3 separate regions of the Homo sapiens genome follow, and regions 1 and 2 are each linked to region 3. The links are contacts of gene promoters, found by promoter capture Hi-C in blood cells and fetal thymus (Javierre and others, 2016). All regions are on one chromosome and are shown on one strand. Each heading gives the region's core, a stretch centred on a gene start or on the middle of the fragment in contact. The rest is flanking DNA. Distances are from core to core; before and after follow the strand shown. Region 1 has its middle 44 kb from the start of MIR4444-1. Region 2 overlaps LOC105373760 (a long non-coding RNA gene). Region 3 holds the start of AGPS (alkylglycerone phosphate synthase).

Region 1 (4,272 bases), core at 131-2,630, 220 kb after region 3:
GAGAGGTGCCTAGGTCAATGCAGGAGTTAAATACTTTTGGTCGCTTGTCTTAACAGCATGAATTTCAAGCAGAGCTTCTAGGAGTGGCTGCTCAGTTTTGGACTGCAGTTACCTGCCCCCATCTCTCCCTTGGCCGGGCTCTAATGCAGGGCATCTTTTCCTAACGTATACAAAGGCTTGTTTCTGGCTTGTTTTTTGAACGGATTCCAAATCTTACAAGTGTAACAGTAACGATCCCATTAGATACGCAGATTCTGACCCAATTTCCTAGGACTGAAAAAAAAAAAAAAAGAATGATTTTGAAAGGTGAAAATAAATCAGTCCTCATGTCATGCAGCTGAGGTTCTCCCTCTTCCCCAAGAGTGATTTTTTTTTTTGTTGGGACACTTTTCCACATCTCACACATACCCTGTTCCTCCACTCCCTACTCATTTGCCTGACTTGTCTGGATATGTTTAAGTAGCACACCCAGTCTGAGTCCATTGTCAAGGGCCCCTCGAGGCCTCTGCAAGGCCTGCCCTGCCAGTTTGACAAACATGCCCAGGCATGCTTGAACTCCAGCAATGGACAACAGATTTTCCACTATACAAATAAAGGGAGGAAGCAGGCAAAGAAGTATTGCAGAGGTCCAGGAAAAGAGAGGGAGAGCACAGTGCCACTGTGCCACTGCCTGCCTCAGGTTCTCTTTTGATTTGCATTTTTAATGGTAAATTTTGGTACAAAAGTTGCCATATACTCAGCGGTCAGCCTTTCTCCTCTCCACATCTTGGGCCATAAGTCCTTGGCGTGTCGGATTCTATTTCCTTCCTGGTCTATGTGTAGTGCTCACCAAAAATGCTTAAGACCCATGCTTGATGATGAAAAAAAATTCTATTTAAGGAATGGTGACCAAAAATGAACTTAGATGTGAAACTAAAACAAACAAAAAGCTTTTCACTTTGCTTTGAACTGGGCACACTCTTTTAACAGTAGGGCACTTCCTGCGTGTAATGTAGCTCTGCTGTGACCAGTTTCACCACGTCTGTTCAATGACTGCCTTGGGAACCAGATCAATCGTGGTCTACCCTTTAAAGGTAGCAGCACTAATTCCTGCTGCCAGCCTCAGCTCAGACACAATGGAGAAACAATTCCCCAATGTTAGACTTAATCACATTGATCTATTTTTCTGTAGCTCTGGTCTTTGCAAGAAACAATGAATGTACAGCCAAACTCACTTAAATGTGATTATGTCAGCCGTTCTATTATCTCTGTATCTTGTATTTTGGGGGCTGTTAATGATATATCATAGCAGATAATAGAAATTTGAATTTGTTTCTTTAAAAGTAGCCAGATGAGCAAGTACATGAAATGACTACAAAGAGTCCATTTCAAATCTTGTTGAAGGTCATAATGAAGATGGTTGTCTTATAATCTCTTACCAACGGAGGTGTTGGGGAAGAAAAAAATCCCCCTTCCAACAACTAAATTAGTTAGGGTGGCCTCAATCTCTCATCATCCACATTGATCAATATTCTCACTACTTCTTTATTTTTATGAAAAATGGGGAGGGACAGTGCAATCCTATCATCTCCACATTTATACAAGGAGTTCTTGAGAGTTAAGGCAGAATGCAGTCCTCCGGGTCCCTTTATGTGGTCAAATAACCCACAATTTTTGGCTGGCCTCACCCAGTCTTCGTTGATTCCCTTTCCCTTGCAACTATAGGTGCAGCCATGGGACCAAGTTCTGGCCAAAGGTTTCCAAGTGGAAGAGAGCTTCTGGGAGCCTTCCTTGACGTGCAGCACACCCTTTGCCTCTCCATGCCTTCCTGCTTCCTGCTGCTTAAAGCTTGAGTGCTGTAACCATGAAGCATGAGCATGCCAAGCACAGCTGAACAGCAAGACAGAGGACCTTGGGTCCCTCAAACCATGAATCACTGTATCAGTCCTAGCCCCACCACTCAGACTTTTGTGTGAGAAAGAAATTTAACCCGTGACTCAAAACAACAAGTTTATTCTATTTTTTTTTTTGAGATGGAGTCTCACTCTGCTGCCCAGGCTGGAGTGCAGTAGTGTGATCTCAGCTCACTGCAACCTCCTCCAAGTGATTCTCCTGCCTCAGCCTCCTGAGTAGCTGGGATTACAGGCACGCGCCACCACACCTGGCTAATTTTTGTATATTTAGTAGAGATGGGGTTTCATCATGTTGGTTAGGCCGGTCTCGAACTCCTGACCTTGTGATCTGCCTGCCTTGGACTCCCAAAGTGCTGGGATTACAGGCGTGAGCCACCATGCCCAGCGCAAGTTTATTCTTGATCACACCACATGTCCATTGCTGGTCAGCAGGGGGACTCTGCTCATTGTGGGTACTCAGAAAGCCAGGCTGACAGTGTCCATGTCAACCAATGCTTCCACCATTGCTGACAAAGACAAAAGGAATGTAGTGAATTGTATACTGATAAGGCTTGGAACTGAAAATAACACATGCCATTTTGCTGACTAATGCAAGTCACATACCATATCTAACTTCAAAAAGGTAGGCAAGTAGTCTATTTGCCCTAAAAGCAGGAGAACCAGAATGTGTGGATAATCCCAATAATGACTATAATTTCTATCTTACCTAAGCCACTGTTATTTTGGGTTTTCAGCCAATTGCATCTGCACTGAATCCTAATTAAGAGAGGAATGATCACATCAATGCTGTGATAACTATGTCCTGTGAGGAAGGCTGTCACTGGGTGTACACCTTATACTCGGAAGGATTTGCAGGGGTCACTCCCTGTGGCTTTTCTGAGAAAGAAGAAGCCACATCTTTCTTAAGATCCTCAGTCATCCTTCAGTCATTGACATCTACTACACTGCAGGCAAATCACTAAGAATTCCTATTCCTAAAGTTCAGGCTACCACCTCTAGCTCCTTCTAAGTCTACGAAATATTCCCTATTCTTTTGAAAACACAACTCTAGTCTTTTTCTATTCTGCTTTGTTCCGGCATTCAAATCTTAGTCCTTGAGATCTGTCATCTTTCCCAGAGGCTCTAAATATGTCCTTACCTCCTTCAATTTGGCAAATATCTTCACTCGACCCTATGACATTTTCCAAATCTATAGACAAATGAGTCGTTCTATACCTATTGTCTTTTTGTTTTCCTTTTCTGAAACCCCTGTGATGAGGCTTCTGTTTGTACCATTCTACTTAAACTGTCTAAAAAGCCATTAATGGCTTTTATCAAGAAGCGTTTGTCTAAAACTCTGGAATTTCCTGGAAACATGCTTTCGTATATTTCATATAGTGGGATGGATAACAGCAGATAAAAACAGTCATAGGTTTAGTAAAACATAGTAGAGCCCTTTCTGCATTTGGGTAGTATGGGAATGCCTTCTGATCTGCTACAGGTAAAATCATATGTCTGTCTGCTCCTGCCCTAAAACACAGGAGCCATCTGCAGTACAAGGCTGACATATTTATTTATTTTGCAACACACACATTCGATCTTTTTTTTTTTTTTTTTTTTTTTTGAGACGGAGTCTCGCTCTGTGGCCCAGGCTGGAGTGCAGTGGCGCCATCTCGGCTCACTGCAAGCTCCGCCTCCCGGGTTCACGCCGTTCTCCTGCCTCAGCCTCCGGAGTAGCTGGGACTACAGGCGCCCGCCACCACGCCGGGCTAATTTTTTTGTATTTTTAGTAGAGACGGGGTTTCACTGTGTTAGCCAGGATGGTCTCGATCTCCTGACCTCGTGATCCGCCCGCCTGTGCCTCCCAAAGTGCTGGGATTACAGGCATGAGCCACTGCGCCCGGCCACATTCGATCTTTAATCCAGTGTTTTAGTGGGTGTAGGTGTGACTTAGAAGCAGGCACAGTTCATTAAAAAACAAAAAACACCAAAACCTTTTACAGGTTATTCTCACAGATAAAAATTCTATAGGCTACCAACAGAGGAAGTCTTTATTGTTCCTGGGCGCTAGACCATACACAGAAGGACCATACTTGCTCTTTGCAGTCTCATTCAGAAGCAGGAAAAAGGGGCTGTATTGGATTTGAATATGAAGGACAAAAGAAGCTCTGGAAACACCAAGTAATAGTCTATGTTACAGGTTTAACACACCCATTTAATCTCATTGGAAAAAATAATGAAACTGGTGAAAAGCATTTATGGAACTGGAGGAGAGCATATTTTGCTGGTTTTACTTTTATGTTTGAAGTTTTGGGTATAGCTATGCCCATAAATACTGAAATGCCTAGCATAAAGAACGCAGCCTGGGGCATACCCCATAAAACGTACAGTGCAATTAAAT
Region 2 (4,249 bases), core at 1,081-3,580, 250 kb after region 3:
TCTAGAAGCAATATACTTTTCACCTCTGGGTGCCACTGTTCAACTGCTTCTCGTTTTTATGACTGTTTGAAAGCCAGATGCTTCTTGTAGATGTATTCTTAAAAGAATCTGTTAAAGAGACATTTTCTCTATCTCTAGTTATCTGCTAAATAACTTTTTTGGCACCTGGAGTAAATTCAGCATGGTTGTGATTTTCCATTTTAATTACCAAATGATGACCAAATAATATTGAAGATTGTTTATATGGGCAATTGGCTAGGTTAAAAGCCTGATTTCATCTCTTATGGAAATGAATTTTGTATTTGCCTTTCTGGTAGGCATTTAACCAGAAAAAGCCTTTAAAACACAAGGGAGTTTTAGGTTAAATTTGTTATCATTTGTAGGTATGATTTTAATTCTGCACAAATGTTTCAATACAAATAAATTTTATAAAAGAGAAGTAATGGGTAGACATTGGAAGGAATTAATCAATGAAAATATAATTTCAAGAACCTAACTTTGTTAACTGAAATATTATTTTTCACTTAATTTTAAAGCTTAATTCCTTTAGCAATTCCATGAAAAAAACCCTACAGGAATTTGTCTACATATTTTCTGAATTCTTCTCAGGTGTGATTATTTTAATAAAAATAACAATATTTGTAATTTTGCAAAATGTATGAGTAATTTTTTTTTTTTTACAAACTAGGCAGTGAATTAGTATTTTGTAACAAGAAACAAATGCACATATTCGGTTGGTTTTTAAATCTCTAATTACTTATTTTAAACTTGGGGCTTATCAGAAATGCGAGAGAAAGTGGTTATAATGCCAAAGTTAATTTTGTTTTGTCATATACAAAGTAGTTAATCTAAAAATTATTGATTGATATTCTCCCTCTTTTAACTCTTTTAGGACTCGATATTTAAAGCAAAACTAATTTATCTAGGTGTTCTACGGCACAAAATTAATTCTCCTGGGACTGGTCCAGGCCAAGCCTCATTATGGAACGGTTCCTCTTGCTGAACTAGTCTAAGCCTGATTCTTACTGGGATACTTTTTTAGAGTTATTTGCAACAAAGAATTTAACCCTTGAGAAGCTACAGAATTGACTTTCAATATTATACATATTAGGCCATTTGAGGGGATCAGGAAGACATTAAAATCAGAGTGTGTTTTTTCCTTGTGGGTGCTTCCTGGGACTTTGAAGTTAGGCAATTGTATTTGTGTATACTGCAGGGATTTTAGTTTTGTAATCATATACCAGAATTGAAGTGTTCATTTAAGACATTTTTTACCCTTCCCTAATCTGCATCACAACAAGCATATTACTGACCCTGTCTTTTTCATTTATATATAAGTGGTGAATTTACCTCTTTGCCTGGGTGCCCAAATAGTTGTTCAGATCATACAGCAAGTTTCACTGACTTTCTTTGCTTAATGTCTAACTGAATCATTTGGTTACTTGGTGTTTTTGTGCATACATAGACCCCAAGATTGTAACTGTTAAACAGCTACAAAAGTAGTTCAGCATCATTCATCAGTTATATTTCCTTTACTGTGTGTGTGTGTGTGTGTGTGTGTGTGCGTGCGTGTGTGTATAATATCTTTGCAAAATATTATTGGCGAATAGATTTTTTAAATGTCAATTTTTGTGTTGACTTTTTGCCTTTTGTGTAGCAGTTAGTTCATAAAGATTAGGCCATTTTCCACTGGAGAATCTCTTGCATTTTAAGGTTCTTTGCTCATTGTGGGCATCTTACCAAATTTTTTCACTGAAGTAGTTTTCCTCATTCAAAATGCCACATTTTCTATTAGAATGTTACTAATCTGGCTCAATATATTTTCCCTTTGTGGCTGGTAAGGAATATTTATTTGATGCTAGTGAGGCGGCCCAATCTACCAGCCAGGTCTTTCACAGAGAACAAGATGGTGGTCAACTTGAGGATGGGTAAGTGTCTTTGTGATGGAAAGCAATAATTTAGTCTTTAGTAGGCTGCTTGCTCTACATGCTAACAAACCGACACCTTTCCTCACTCCCCTTCTCCCAGACAGATTTCTGTTGGATTAGTAGTAGGTTGACTTGTTCCGTCTCACATAGATATACTTCCAGAAGGTGTCGCGGTGATGCTGTGAGACTTAACTTGTCAACCTAAACTCTTTTTATCTGAAATGCAATAACAATTGCCAAGTTTTCCTAATATAAAAATAGTCTAAATCAATTATCCAGGCTATTGTTAAGCCACACTAAATTATGGGATTAATAAGCAAACATTCAGGTAGTTCAGTGGCATTTGATAAGGAAATTTAATTTACTCACATAAGATTACACTTAGAAAATTATTGGCCAGGCGTGGTGGCTCACTCCTGTAATCCCAGAACTTTGGGAGGCTGAGGCGGGGGATCACCTGAGGTCGGGAGTTGGAGACCAGCTTGACCAATATGGAGAAACCCTGTCTCTACTAAATATACAAAATTAGCCAGGCGTGGTGGTGCATGCCTGTAATCACAGCTACTCGGGAGGCTGAGGTAGGAGAATCGCTTGAACCCAGGAGGCAGAGGTTGCAGTGAGCTGAGATCACGCCATTGCTCTCCCAGCCTGGGCAACAAGAGCGAAACTCCAGCTAAAAAAAAAAAAAAAGAAAATTATCCATATAGGTCCCATTGTTTTCAATAAAGTAAAGGTAGGTTTTTAAAGAAAAACTTTGTAAAAACATACTCTGGCCAGTGAATTTAATTTCTCTGTAAAATAATAGCTTTTTTTTTTTTAAAAAGAGTCTTGCTCTGTCACCTAGACTGGAGTGCAGGGGCAGGATCTTGGCTCACCACAATCTCCTCCTCCCAGGTTCAAGTGATTCTCCTGCCTCAGCCTCCTGAGTAGCTGGGATTACAGGTGCGTGCCACCACATCTGGCTAATTTTCGTATTTTTAGTAGAGACGGGTTTCACCATGACGGTCAGGCTGGTCTCGAACTCCTGATGTCATGATCCACCCTCCTTGACCTCCCAAAGTGCTGGGATTACAGGGCGTGACACCGCGCCCGACCTAAAATAATAGTTTTAAGAGAAACTGCTGCCTTGTGAAATTGAATTCTCAGTCTATAATGTGGCGTATGCTTCTGTTTTAAATTCATTATAAAAGGTATTTAAACTTCATAGATTTCTTCCCCCTGTGTATTTTTGTCAGCCTAGACGCACAAAGAAAGAAGAATGCTCTATACCTTGTGGACATTTAATAAAGATTAATTTTTTTAAACTAACAATTTAAGTATAATCTCCAAATGGAAGCATATCTATGTTAGTTTAAATCCTTTCACAATAAATAACAGAATACAGGAAACTTTTAGGAAGGTTTATGATTTTCCATAAGAAAAATGTGCTTAGAGCTTAGAGGGGAACATTTTACAATTTTTTTAAAAAAATCTACATCTTCCTTCTGCAGATATCAATACAATCAATTGACAGTAAATGAAAAAGCCGAAAAAAAAGAATGCCCCCTCTCCAGTCTTCCTTTTTTTTTTTTTTAATTTCAGTTGGAAAATCCCCACTGAATGAATTTTTTTGAAAAAGTAAATGTATCCTGGGAACATGCCGTTCAGGATTTTGGAAAAGGAACTTCAAACGAAATTGGTAAGGGAGGCAAATGCGTAAGTGGAAACTTTGAGGAAACTGGCAATGAGAGACTGGAAATCAGGCAGTCATTTACGTTTTACTTCACCACCCTTTGCTTATGTGAGTACAAAGCAGGGAGCTGGCAAGGCTGTGAGTCAGAACTCTCCTCTCAGGAACTGAGCAGAGAGATTCCCAGCATCTGTTTCCTCAACTATCACCCAGAGGATACTGGTGGTAAATCACAGGGAATAAAAATAGCCTCAGAAGTCTAGTTCCAGACAAATAAGGCATGCTGGATATTCGATAGTGGTTTGGGGTCTCAAAATTCTTCATTAGCTAAATAACAAATATATTATTTTTTACATTAATGAGCATATTCCTTACATTGTTCACCTAAATGTTGAGCACAACCTTGGCATTTCTACTGACGTGAGTTGAAGTATTACCTAAATTACATTATGTTTGATGTTACAGTCTGAACCATTTAGTGTATAAAGGTGGGTCTACAATCAATAATCACAAATGTTAAAGCTTTATTTTAGATACAATAAAACATTTATTTCTAAGATGTTAAAAAAAAACCCATAAGCTTCTTACCATAATGTCAATTGCCAATAGATTGATAAGATCTTTCTGCATTTTGACTGCAGGAAATTTTATG
Region 3 (4,674 bases), core at 1,523-4,022:
TATCAAGTATATCACCCTCTGTGGAAGCTTTTGATGTGTCATCTAATACAAGTTTCTGTGTTCCCTCATATTTTGATGAAAATCTCAAAGTACCAGTACAGGACTAGATTTTACCACTAGTCGTCTAACCCCGAACCAAAGACCAGGGCTTCCCACCAGCTGTAACCTATGCAACAAATGGGTTACAGTCGTGCCTGAACTATCGATGCCTTCAGTCCTTGGAGCAGCCACACAGGGCATCCCTGACCAGTCACCTTCAACCATCATCTTGGTGTGCCTTACAAACGTTACTATTTTTTCTCTGAATGCTGTAAACCAAGCCATTAAATCTAACCATAAGGAAAACCTGCCCTCCTTACTTGGTTCTAAGAGTGTGAATCTACATAAAATGTACAATCACATATATGCATACAAATGAGAACACATAAATGTACATGAAACCATTTAGAAAATTTTAAACCTAATGACAGCTATTAATAATATAACCTCAATTGAAGCCAGGAGACGAGATGAAATCCTTTATTCCTCCCCTCCCCACCACTCAGTAACCAAGTTATGGAAAATTTACCTCCTAGCATTTTCTCAATTAAGTTGCCTACTCCCAATAATATGCCTTAGTTCAGAATCCCAGCATTTCTCCCTGGAATAATAGTCTCCTAGTCTCTCTGCCTTTAGACACTGTGAAAATTGCAGCTACCATTCTTTGAAAGGTTATGTAACAGGCATTGCACTAAACACTTGATCATTTAACTCTATTTTTTTCAATTCTCACAGCAACACTGCAAAACAGGATTACTGTTCCCGTTTTTACAAATGACGGTGACTGAAACTCTCAGAGGTTAAGTGATTTGCCCAAGATCATAGAGCTGTAACGGTGTAGTGGAAATTGAAATCCAGGTCTATGTTCCCAGCCATTATACTGCCAAAATGCTCAACTGTCTTCAATTTGCTCCCAGTGTGACCTTTATCAAAGGTAAATCTAATCATGTATTGCCCCACGTAAAATCCTGTAAACAAGATTCACCTCTCCAGTCTTCGTCCCCTGTCATTCTCACCCTCTCCTACTACACTTGAGTCTCAGCAGTTCCCTAATTTGTCTCTCACTTCTTTACCTGTGAACATACTGTTTGTATGCCAAGAACAATTTCCCCCTTTGGCAAACTATTAGTAATGCAAACATCCAAAATTTACTCAGACAATCTTTACTTTGGAACATCTTTGCACTAACAAACACAAACCCAAAACTGGGTTAAATGACCAGGTGGTATAGTTCCCAGTTAAGTTTCTTATAACGCTGTATTATAATTTTACCTACTAAGCTATTCCTTCCTTAAGAGTAAATACCGTATTTTTAAATTTCTGTATTGCTGGTACAGTGTGTATTTTGTAAAGACTCATGTATGTTGAATTAATTCATCAGAAGCAAGTATAGCTTAGGAACTTGGCCATGAAGTCAATTTGATGTGCTTTCAAATTCTAACCTGTCACACAGCATATCTGCTAAGACTCCAGCAGACTTAATTTATTCATCTGTAAAATGGGAGAAAACCGCACATACCTCATAGCTTGGGAAGAAACAAAGGATTTAGCACACTTTGGCACACTTAAAAGTACACTTTAAACATTAGCTACTTATTTTTTTCACTCTCGGTTTATCCATTTATCCACGGTGACAAAGCCACACGTCAGAAAGTAGCTTCTCCTAATAGCCTTCATCAGAGATTGAGGAGATCGAGACCATCCTGGCTAACACGGTGAAACCCTGTCTCTACTAAAAATACAAAAAAAAAAAAAAAGATTTCTCCAAAAACATCGAAAGTCAAGATCTCTTACAAACATCCCTCATCGGTTAGACTCTTGTCTTTTAGCTTCTGGTTACACAGAGCTCAGTAGCTATACCACCACACCTTAAACCACTAGCTAGTGTTTGCAGTTTATGGCTTCTTACCATTCATCGGTTTCCTCCCTCAAAGTCAATACATCTTGATCCTAAGCAAGTGGAACTTACCCCACAGAAACCAGTCAGCACCTTTTTCCAGGGCACCACCAGTTTCCCCCACAGCAGGCTTTCGCGAATGAGAGAGATTCCTATGATCTATCATCTAGTACAAATTTATATCTCCTCGGAGAAAAATAGAACCTCTGCTACCCATTCCAAGACCTCAGCACCAAAAGTATTAATTCAAGATAAAAAATGAATTCCTGGCACTAAAAGCTCAGGAAAAAGGAATCCTTTAAACCCTTCTCCAACGAGAGTTCTTCAAGCCTGTTACCCTCACATAGTGACCAAAATCCACCATCCCATCCCGCCCCCTTCCTGACAGAATCCAGGGTCTAGTCCACTCTCTCGAAAGAGAGGTGGGTCCCTACTTTCAGGGACCGGGATGCCTTCCGCCCACCCGTGTCACTTCCCTTCCCACCTCGCCTGTGCCCTCCTGCAGCACAGGCCCGGCCTGGTCCCTCGACGCTAACTCCTTCCACATACCGCTACTCACCGCTTCTTTGGGATGGTGCCCGACTCCTGCGCGGCGGGAGTGGCCGTGGGCGCTGCCGTGGCCGCCGACGCGGCTCTCCGCGCTTTGCACTCATTGGTACTCAGAGCCTCCCGGGGCCGGCCCAGCAGATGGCCAGAGAGAACCCGCAGCCTCCGCCCGGCGCGGTCCGGGTCCGGGTCCCGGTCCCGGTCCGCTGCAGACCCGTAGCTCGCGCCCGCGCCCAAGCCAGTCCCACCCGCTGCAGCCGCCGCCTCCGCCATGGCTACCGCCTTGTGCTGCCGCCCGGAACCGCTGGGCGCGGGTGAAAGGTCACTCAGAGCGGCGCCCGGCGCGACCATTCGCTGCGGCGCATCCCGGCAGCCACCGCGGCGACTTGGCGGCGGGTGCCATGCGTCTGGAGCTTCACATTCTCTGCCCCCCACCCACCGCGCCGGCGCTCCCTTGTCACGCCTCGGGAAGCGCGCACCTGCCAAGCAGGTGAGTTCGAGCTGACTCCCGGTTGGCCCAGCCCGGTCCAGCTGGACCGAGAGCCAAACCACGTCCGCCCTCGAGGTGTCCTAGAACCCTGGGTGGTGTCCTCGGGTGTGGCCTGGGGGCTTTCGAGGGCAGATGCCTTGGAGCAGGAGAAATGGGCAGTGCTACTGGACCTGATGGATCCAGCGGCATCCTTTTCCTGAAAGAGATTCTAATGTTCCACCTGTGCTCTTCCTCCCTGCGGGGTCACCAAAGTAACTCAAAGCTGACCATCATTGCCTCTAACCATTAGAGCAAATAGCTCTATCATTTTCTTATTTCTCACCACCTATTTCGTGCCTGGCACTGTGTTTAATGCTAGATCACAAGTAAGTACAGAAACTGAGTTGCAACTTAAGTTCTCATTTCATTCATTACTGGATCCTAACCCCTTCCTAACTTTAATAGAGATAAAGTTTCTTATTGCTACAGACAAAAATTACCCAAGAGCTGTGAAGACATCTCAGTTATTTACAGATTGAATTCATTTCTGGAAGATAGCACGTGAAAAGTGCTCCTCACCTGTTTCAGCCGGTGTCTTGCATAAGAATTAGCTTAGACAAAAACTCACATACACTGGCCATTGTCATTCTCCATCCTGTCACCACTTTCACATCATGCTTTCCTAACAAGAAAAATATTGGCAGAGGAATCTGAAGAACACCACATCCATGGGACTAGAGACTAACAATTGCTCTCTTGGGTGTTGCCAGCTTCTAAAATTGAGATTATGCCTTTAGAGTGAACTTCCAAAGAGGCCCAGACTGGTTAAAAACTCTCAATTAAGGGCTAAGCAAATTGCTGTTGGAGGGCCAGCTCTAGTCTGTGGCCTGTTTTTACACAGCCCTCATGCTAATGGTTTTTGTATTTGAGAAGGGTTGTTAAAAGAAAACAAGAAATTTTTTAAAAGAATATGCAACAGAGACCTTATGTGGTCCCAGAAGCCCCAAAATATGTATTACCTGGCCTTTACAGGAGGTCCGAATGTCTTCTGAAATTTATATACGAAGAGATACCAAACCATTGAAAACAGTCCAAATGTCTAGCAACAGAGAAATGGTTAGTCAATATGTTAAAATACTTTTGCAGCTATTAAAATAATTTAGTACAGTTGTAGAAACAAGAAAGAATTAGGAATTTGTTAAATATAAAAAATGGCCATAACCTAGGCATCTTATACGTATCTATTTAATCAATCTTTGCAGTAACACAATGACACAGTTTTATTATCCTTATTTTATAGATGAAGGCTCAAGGAGAGTAAGAAGCTTTTCTTAAATAGCTATATTTTATCTCAAATATCATATACTTCATGTTATTGTCCTTATTCCACCATTAGAGTTTGGGGCCATTAACATTTTACGTTAAAATTACTTACGTAGGCTTGGGGTTTTTGTTTTTTATTTTATAGATTCTAAAATTGAACTTTCTAAAATAAATTTTCACTTTAATTATAAACTATACTCCTGGTTCTTAAGGATTGAGTTCTGGGAAGAATTTCAGAGATTGCCACCACAGCTATCACGACCTCATTCATGAGGTGCAAGAACATGAAACACATATAGCACTTTCCTAGGTATTTATGACTGAAAAAAGAGAATCTTTAGTTGATCTTGTAAAATTAAATATCAAAGCCTGCAAGCCACTAGTTTCTGGCTTTTGCATA

The links. Contacts are between HindIII fragments. The CHiCAGO score rates a contact against its expected background, and 5 or more counts as called.
Region 1: a contact is called between a fragment that was not itself captured here and the fragment with the promoter of AGPS in region 3, in 3 of 17 cell types (monocytes, M0 macrophages and neutrophils). The highest score is 9.1, in monocytes.
Region 2: a contact is called between a fragment that was not itself captured here and the fragment with the promoter of AGPS in region 3, in 2 of 17 cell types (monocytes and neutrophils). The highest score is 6.0, in monocytes.

The regions. Positions count from the first base shown.
Region 1 is chr2:177,166,619-177,170,890 of GRCh38, reverse strand. No RefSeq gene overlaps it. Among named protein-coding and RNA genes, the nearest start is that of MIR4444-1, 44 kb to the left of the region's middle. RefSeq lists enhancers at 444-613, 192-1,391, 2,276-2,570, 3,572-4,090. The HindIII fragment of the contact is 898 bases long and covers 932-1,829 here.
Region 2 is chr2:177,143,097-177,147,345 of GRCh38, reverse strand. The region is part of intron 1 of LOC105373760 (a long non-coding RNA gene); the gene reads left to right. Among named protein-coding and RNA genes, the nearest start is that of MIR4444-1, 68 kb to the left of the region's middle. The HindIII fragment of the contact is 3,583 bases long and covers 539-4,121 here.
Region 3 is chr2:177,390,871-177,395,544 of GRCh38, reverse strand. It overlaps AGPS (alkylglycerone phosphate synthase), which reads right to left and starts at 2,772. Exons shown (of 20, transcript NM_003659.4): 1 at 2,496-2,772. The coding sequence starts at 2,755. LOC100130691 (Putative uncharacterized protein FLJ44553) reads left to right here and starts at 2,854. Exons shown (of 9, transcript NR_026966.1): 1 at 2,854-2,972. RefSeq lists silencers at 1,050-1,344, 2,553-2,772. The HindIII fragment of the contact is 4,249 bases long and covers 30-4,278 here.